2 separate regions of the Homo sapiens genome follow, and region 2 is linked to region 1. The links are contacts of gene promoters, found by promoter capture Hi-C in blood cells and fetal thymus (Javierre and others, 2016). All regions are on one chromosome and are shown on one strand. Each heading gives the region's core, a stretch centred on a gene start or on the middle of the fragment in contact. The rest is flanking DNA. Distances are from core to core; before and after follow the strand shown. Region 1 holds the start of TBX18-AS1 (TBX18 antisense RNA 1). Region 2 has its middle 81 kb from the start of LINC02535.

The links. Contacts are between HindIII fragments. The CHiCAGO score rates a contact against its expected background, and 5 or more counts as called.
Region 2: a fragment that was not itself captured here is called in contact with the fragment with the promoter of TBX18-AS1 in region 1 in 2 of 17 cell types (erythroblasts and megakaryocytes); the score reaches 5.5 in erythroblasts.

What each region holds. Positions count from the first base shown.
Region 1 is chr6:84,687,776-84,691,366 of GRCh38, forward strand. TBX18-AS1 (TBX18 antisense RNA 1) reads left to right here and starts at 1,683. Exons shown (of 3, transcript NR_125877.1): 1 at 1,683-1,786. The HindIII fragment of the contact is 6,253 bases long and covers 1,181-3,591 here.
Region 2 is chr6:85,321,519-85,325,109 of GRCh38, forward strand. No RefSeq gene overlaps it. Among named protein-coding and RNA genes, the nearest start is that of LINC02535, 81 kb to the right of the region's middle. The HindIII fragment of the contact is 152 bases long and covers 1,972-2,123 here.

The DNA of each region.
Region 1 (3,591 bases), core at 433-2,932:
AAGAAGGGCTTTGCTTAATTGTTCTCTCAAAGCAAAGGTATCCCACTTTCAGAGCCAATTTTCTCTTTCAATGTAACACTCAGGAATATGTAATCTTAGATGAATTCATGTTCCTCCTTTCCTCTTTTATTTCCATTAAATAATTAATAAATTTTGGGGTAACAAAAACTTTAACAGCAATTTTTAGGAATCTCCCTCCTATATTTGCACATTTGGCTCTCAACTTCTTCTGGAACTGCCTTCTACGTAACACACTCCATATTTGTTACTTAAATGTTCTTGTTTCTTTAAACAAAACATAAAGGTAAAGAAGTTTGGTGACCAGAGCAAATAAGCTCTTTACAAAAGGGCCAAGCACCACACTATCTTGAAACTGAAAACACCCAAATCTTTTCTTAACTTTTCCTGAAGTTAACCGTCTTTTGAGCCTAACTTTCTGGGGAGTGATTGAGGACTGAAGGAATCGGGATTGGCAAGAAAAATGTCTCTCCCTCCGAAGCATCTGGCTGCATACTCTGAAAAGACAGGGCATTTGAAGAAAGAGCATAATCAACCTGTCAGAAACATTTTGATTTCACTTAAATACTGGGCAATCTGACAACAACTTTTCCCACAACTGAGAAGAATCTCCTAACATGAGAGGCACTTGAAGACGTGTTAAAATTTTTACAGCTATTAACACATTCCTAAGAAAAATACTGCTGGAGACACAAGAAAGCCAAGGATAACAATCTTCTCTTTCCAATGAAAACGTTTAGTCTGTTTGATTAAAGGAAGATAAATGAAAGGGCAAGGGCAAACTCACCTCACATTCTGTGCTACAGTTTGGTTTCCCTTGAGACCAAATTGTCTCGCTCAGGAAAAATGTAGTCTGTCTTCAAGTCCCTGTATTCTGGAGCAAGGAATCAGATGAGGAATCACTTAGCATTCAGCACATCTCAGCTGGCTCTGAAGGGCCTGAATTCTCTGGCAACCTTGACCAGGGATAAGCAGAACGGAGAAGGCAGGGCATAGCCATCAATTTATGTTTCCTTCTTCTCCTTATCTCCCTATTCCAAGAGATTCAAAGAGAGGTGCAGATAGCCCTCCAATAAGAACAAAACCCTCTGGACCAGGGTACCTAGGCTCTGGTCCTAGCTCTGCAATAACTGTGACCTTGAAAAACTATTTGTTGTCGCTAAGCTTCAGTTTTTCTTTCCATTAAATTAGGGGGTTGGTCTAAAACAGTATTTTCACACTGTGATTTGGAGCCATTTGTGGGACATAAAGTCAATTTAGTCAGTTGCAACAGGCAATGCTTGGAAAGGAAAGAGGATAAGATAAGGGATAAAGTAGGGAATGGGATGGGATGGGATGGGATGGGATGGGATGGGATGGAACATAGGATAAGATAGCTTAGGACAGGACAGGATAGAAAATATCACACTGCTTCATTTTTTTTTTATTGGTGTTCACAGAAGCCAGCATTCATTGATGTTTTTACAACTTCCCCAGGTCTACCAGGCTTCTTGATCTCACTTCTTCTAGAAGAAAACCCAGCCAAGGTGGTACAAGCTGTAGACAGTGCCACCCAGACACAGCTCCACAGTCCATTGTATAGGATGCTGTCAGTTGTCCTGCCCTTTAAGTGCATTGTGAGGTCACTGTCCACCTCAATTCATCAGGAGAGACCTAGTGTGGGTGTAGGGGTGCCTGAGGAGAAAGGGGTGCTGGTTCTTCCTTATATCCCCTGCCTGCCTCAGCTGGGCTCTGACCCAGCCAGCAGACTGGAGTCCTCTTCTGCATGGTATATTCTTTCCTGAGACTTTTGTTTCAGTTAGGTGTGTGTGTGTTTCTGTTTTTGTGTGTGCATGTGTGTGTCTTAAAATATAGTTCTATGTATTGTGTCTAGAAGAATGTTTGATAAACACTGGATTGAATGATCTCTCAGATTTCCTCTAGCTCTACTCATGTGGAATTTGGTAAGCTATACAGACACCATTCTGATAAGCCTACACTCTGGGTGGGTCCATTCCAGACCTCATACACTACACTAATGAATATGAATCTATTTTTATGTGACTTGAGGCCATTGAAATTTTGTGTACATTTATGTTCATGTATTAATGTGCAAGTGTATTCGTGTTTTTATCTCACCTGATACAGGACCTAACCACTGCCAGCACTGAAGTACAATGTGACTCACTATAGCAAAACAAAAAAGCAGTAGAGATCAATGGCCTTCAACACTGAAGAAATTAGTTTCTAGAGAAGCCTGGGGCTATGTTTCAGTGCCTAGGGCTATGTTTGCTTGATGTAGAGAAGGAATAAGAGAAGGGACATACATGTATTGCTATACTCTGGTACCCATAAAGAATGATCCTTTGGGAATATGCCACTGTTAAAGTAGTTGTTTATAGAACTGAGCTACATGGTCTTGTGACTTGAAAACACTTGAAACAAGAGTATAACTGCTACACAATCATTTCAAAATTCCTGTTTTACTCACTGTTTTATTCTTTGGGAGTAGCACTGTGCCCAGGACACAGTAGACATCATAAAATGTCTGTTGGAGTCTTATATAACTTTGCTAGCCACGGGGGAATCTTCTATTTCAGTAGGTTGGCCCTTGGTTCCTTCTAATTACTTAAAGTCAGGAAGGACTGTGATATCCACCCCATTAGCCAGAATCTAGTCACACAACACCAACCTAACATAAGGAGGTTCATATCAATGAAATAAACATGGATATTTAGTGAGTACTAATATTCTCCATTAATATGATCACTCCCTCCCTCCTTGAAACACTTTATTAACTTAGCTTTCAGAATACAGCACTCTCTTAGTTTTCCTTTGATCTCGTTGGTATGTCCTTCTAGGTATCCTTTCCGATTCCTTTCCTTTCACTTCTGATCCTTTGCTCAATATGAAGTTCAGTGACTTCATGTAGGTAGCTTGAAATCATTCATGGTGGGACTATTTACACCATGGAAATTGGCAAATGCCACAAATTAGGGCTTTGTCTTCAGAGAGCCAATTGTTCCACATTTACCAGCTCACTACTGGCTCTATTTCTATTTTTTAATGGTTCTGTTTGAAATTGTATTATGCATGTTTAACTTAACAAAGTCTAAAATTTAAAAATGTCTTGAACCCCTTGTGAATGATACAGACCTTAAAATAACTTTTCCTCCACTGAAATTATAAAGTACTTGTCCAATATTTTATTTCTATGTATTTTGTAACACCATAAAATATATGGTGTTATTTTACTTTACACAATGTTTACATTTCTGTTTATCATTTACATTCTCACTGTTTTTGTATCTAGACCATCCTTCTGAGATCAGTCTCCTTTTTCTTGAAATGTAGCCTTCATGACTTCCTGTAGAGTGGATGCTTTGGTAGTAAATTCCCTTCAATTTCTGTAAATTATCTTGTATCTGTAAAAGACTGTATTTTGCCCTCATTCTTCAAAGATGTTTTTGTGTTTTGTTTTTAGTGGGAGGAAGAGAACAGGAGTACAGGTTGACAGTTATCTATCAGCATTTTAAAAACATTATTCCACAGTCTTCTGGCTTCCATTTTTCTCTGTGGAGAACACTGCTGTCA
Region 2 (3,591 bases), core at 798-3,297, 630 kb after region 1:
CCTTTGCTTTGGGTTTTTCAGAGAGATTCAGAATACGTTTCTACGTTTATTTAAAGTAGAATGTTAAGGCCAAGATGAAGAGAATCAATTCTAATCAGCTTTTGAAGTAGAAACAGGACAGGATCAATCTTGCAGCACTCAACAGACTATCTCCCATTTGGAACTAAAGATGCAGAACATAAAACATTCCATTAGATCCCTATTTTATTTCATTTGTGGCCACATGAGTCTGTCTAATCCTGACCACAGAATCAGAATGTTGAAAAGACTTTGAAGGTTCATCGAATCCACACCCACGCCTATGGGAAGATCTCCCACTAACCCTCCAGACACATGGGGACTTACCCTGTTTCTAAAGACCTCCACGAAGTCCTACAAAAAGTGTTAAAACACCAGCTCTCCTGCCAGTGGTCTGCTGGGATTGTTGAATTTGCGTCGGCCCCACCTCCATTAATCAATCCCACTCCAGCTCCTCAGAATCATCCCCTTTTCTCTACTCTTTAATACTCAACATCTGCCCACAGCTCACATGTGTTGCATTGCCAAGTTCTGGCCCCTAAGCCAGCTGAGGCCTGTTCTAGTCTATTGAAGCCAAGGCACAGGTGTGGCTGTCAGGCAGCCCAAGCCCCTCCTGTTGTTCCCCATGCAACCATTGGCAGTGCTTCAGCTGCTGAGCAGCTAGTGAGAGGAAAGGCAAATTCCTAAACACTCAGGAGTTTTGGAGTGTTTCATTCTTTGCAAGGAAAAAAGATTCATAGATCTTTTATTAGGGAGGCTGCAAGTGATGCTTGATATAAAATATTTGCCTTTTGTTTAACATAGTAAATTGATCATTATTTGGCTACCCCAACTCAAACTTCTGATCAAGCCTCAAAATTTGCAGCACCAACCTCTACCAGAATTCCTACTCTGTTGGCTTAAAATAGCAGAGGAGTAAACTTTTTTCCTTCATTAATATGAAAGAATTTGAAGCATTAGAAATAGCCCTGCACTAAAGAAACAGGTACTAAGAATGATGTTTCCCAGGAAATGCGTGTGGCCAGAAACCTAAGTCAGGAATGAAGAATCCTCAATGAGCATTGGAGAGGACTGTCTACTTTCCTTGACTCTCATATCATTCCTGGCTCCAGACTGGCTCCTGGAAAACGCTTTTTCTCCATTTCCCAGACAATGTCTTGTGCACTCCCCCATTGCCTGAGAGAGACTTAGGGAGGGTTATCTGTAGTACCAATCAAGGCAGCTTGGATGCTCCCCTCCAGCCTTCAGCAGACAGACCCTCCTGGAGATGTGGGAAGGGCCATCACCCCACTGTAAGGAGCTGAGGCCCTGTTGATCAGCTTTTTCAGTTTCAGCAACAGAAGCAGACAGGCCTTGAGCTGTATGGAGTGGAGCCTGCAGTTACTGGTGTGACCATCCACTGCAGTCAGAGGCAAAACCCTGAGAGAAGCCCAAAATCCAGCTGAAGAATGGGAATGCACAGGGTCATACTCCTCAGGTGGTGCCAATTTTCAAAACCCCAGACCCCTCAAATCAAGGACTGTATCCCAGAGAACTGGATAAACCAGCTATGTCCCTACAGATAAAGACACATGCTACCCTTTAACTTCCTGCTGGCTAAATGCTTTCTCTGAAGGCCTCGCCTGAGCTAAAATCAGATTTTCACATTTAGTATAATAATTCTCAAAAGCCCCACCCCCCGATCATAATCATCTTTTGACCTCCCTTCTCAGTGTTTCTACATTCACTGAGAAGTCTTAGCCAAGCTCCTACGACTCCTAATAGCTCAGATGACCCTAAACAGATGCATGCATTTGGATCATGTTAAGTTCATGTTCCAGCACTCCTGTCAGCCTTTCTTTCAGAAAGGTGATTTTTTCTCAGACTCAGGACAATTTTATATGGTAAACAGATTGCTTAAACAAACAAGCTTTGTTAACTTTTAAAGAAAGCACATAAATTATACCATCATAAAGCTTTCCCTTTTCAGGTTTGTAACTGGAGTGTCATAAACATCAGACTTGATGATCTTTGGTCCACATTTCAGATGTCTCTATCTTCAGGTGAGCCCCAAATGATTCTTACAAAGGGTAGCAGCGCCCTCTACTGGTTGGCTTTGCAGGCTAAGCTTTTACAAGGTGGAAGTCTGAGTATGAATCCCTTTGATGCTGAAATCCCTTGTAGTTAAGAAGGGAAATGAGGTTTTGAATGCGACGTTCTTCATTTCCTCAGCAACGCACATTGCAGCAAGGAGAGTCTCACATTTCTTCCATTATTATTTCTAGCATTTAATATAGCCAGCCACATTAGAACTGATGACACCTCGACAGCATTTTTCCCCATTACTAACGGTGTGAGGCAAATCGATGAGGGGTGGGGGGTTCCATTCTTCCCACCCTTTTTAGTACTCCGCCCCGCCCAAATAATAGAGCAGCACCACTGGCCATCTCTGAGATGTTCCCTTAAGAGCCACAGGAGGACAAACACAACCCACATGAGATGATAAGCCTGATTCTGTGCCACCTGGACTGGAAATCGACTAAGAGCTTGAGTGTACAATAAGACTCTCACAACCATCCACACACAGCATAGAATTTCAATCTTGATCTGAAAGCAGCTGTCAAGCTCAACCACCTCAACCACTTACTTCCAAAGGAATCTCTATGAATTCAGGAAACCAGGAGACCCTTTAGGTGGCTGGGGTACATTCAACAAAAAATATTTCACTATATTCAACAAATATTTAGTAAGCACTTACACTGTTCTGGTGCTGTGTAGGCACCAAGGAAACAGTGTTAAGAAAAAGCAACACCTGCTCTTAGTGGAACTTGTTGTCTAAGTGAGAAGACAAATAATCCCCAAAATTAATTACAAACAAGGACAAAAGACATGAAGGAAAGGTACACGATGTCATGTGGATATATAGTCTAGGGGAGTGGAGGGAGTTTCCCTGAGGAACTAACATTATCACTGAGAGCAAAAGGGCAAATAGTAGTTACTGAGGGTGGGAGTGGGCATGGGTTCCAGGCAGAGAGATAAGCATGTGAAAGACAGCTGCCAGGCAGGGAGGGGCAAGATCCTGGATGTGACCCTTGCCATAGGCATCCATGTCTTTATGACATTATTTCTATAAAATTGACTAAATAAATAAATACAAATAAATCCTTCCCAGCAATTGACCAAATTCCTCCAGTAAACCGAGTTGTCAATTTCTGTGCTGGGAAATGAGAGGAGTGGCCAAGTCTTCTACAAAGTGGGCATTTTTCTGGTTTTCGTCCACCTGCTGGAAGTTATGGATTCCAGTGAGCTCTTTGCTTCATCTTTGCATCATTTTAGCATGTTGCACCATGTACCCAATGCCAGAGCCTTCTTTTATATGGGCAGTATCTACTTACCTATATCTCTTCTGGTACTTAACAGACACCAGGCATTTTTCTTGTGCTTGATAGTGACTCTACATTAAACATTCCTAGAATTTTATCCCAGAATTCTTGGACAATGCCTCAGCAAGGTGATCTGCAACATTATTTTACTTATTTATTTCTGCTATTTTAACAAATGGTTATTTAGAGCTCACTACATGCCAGGCAAATT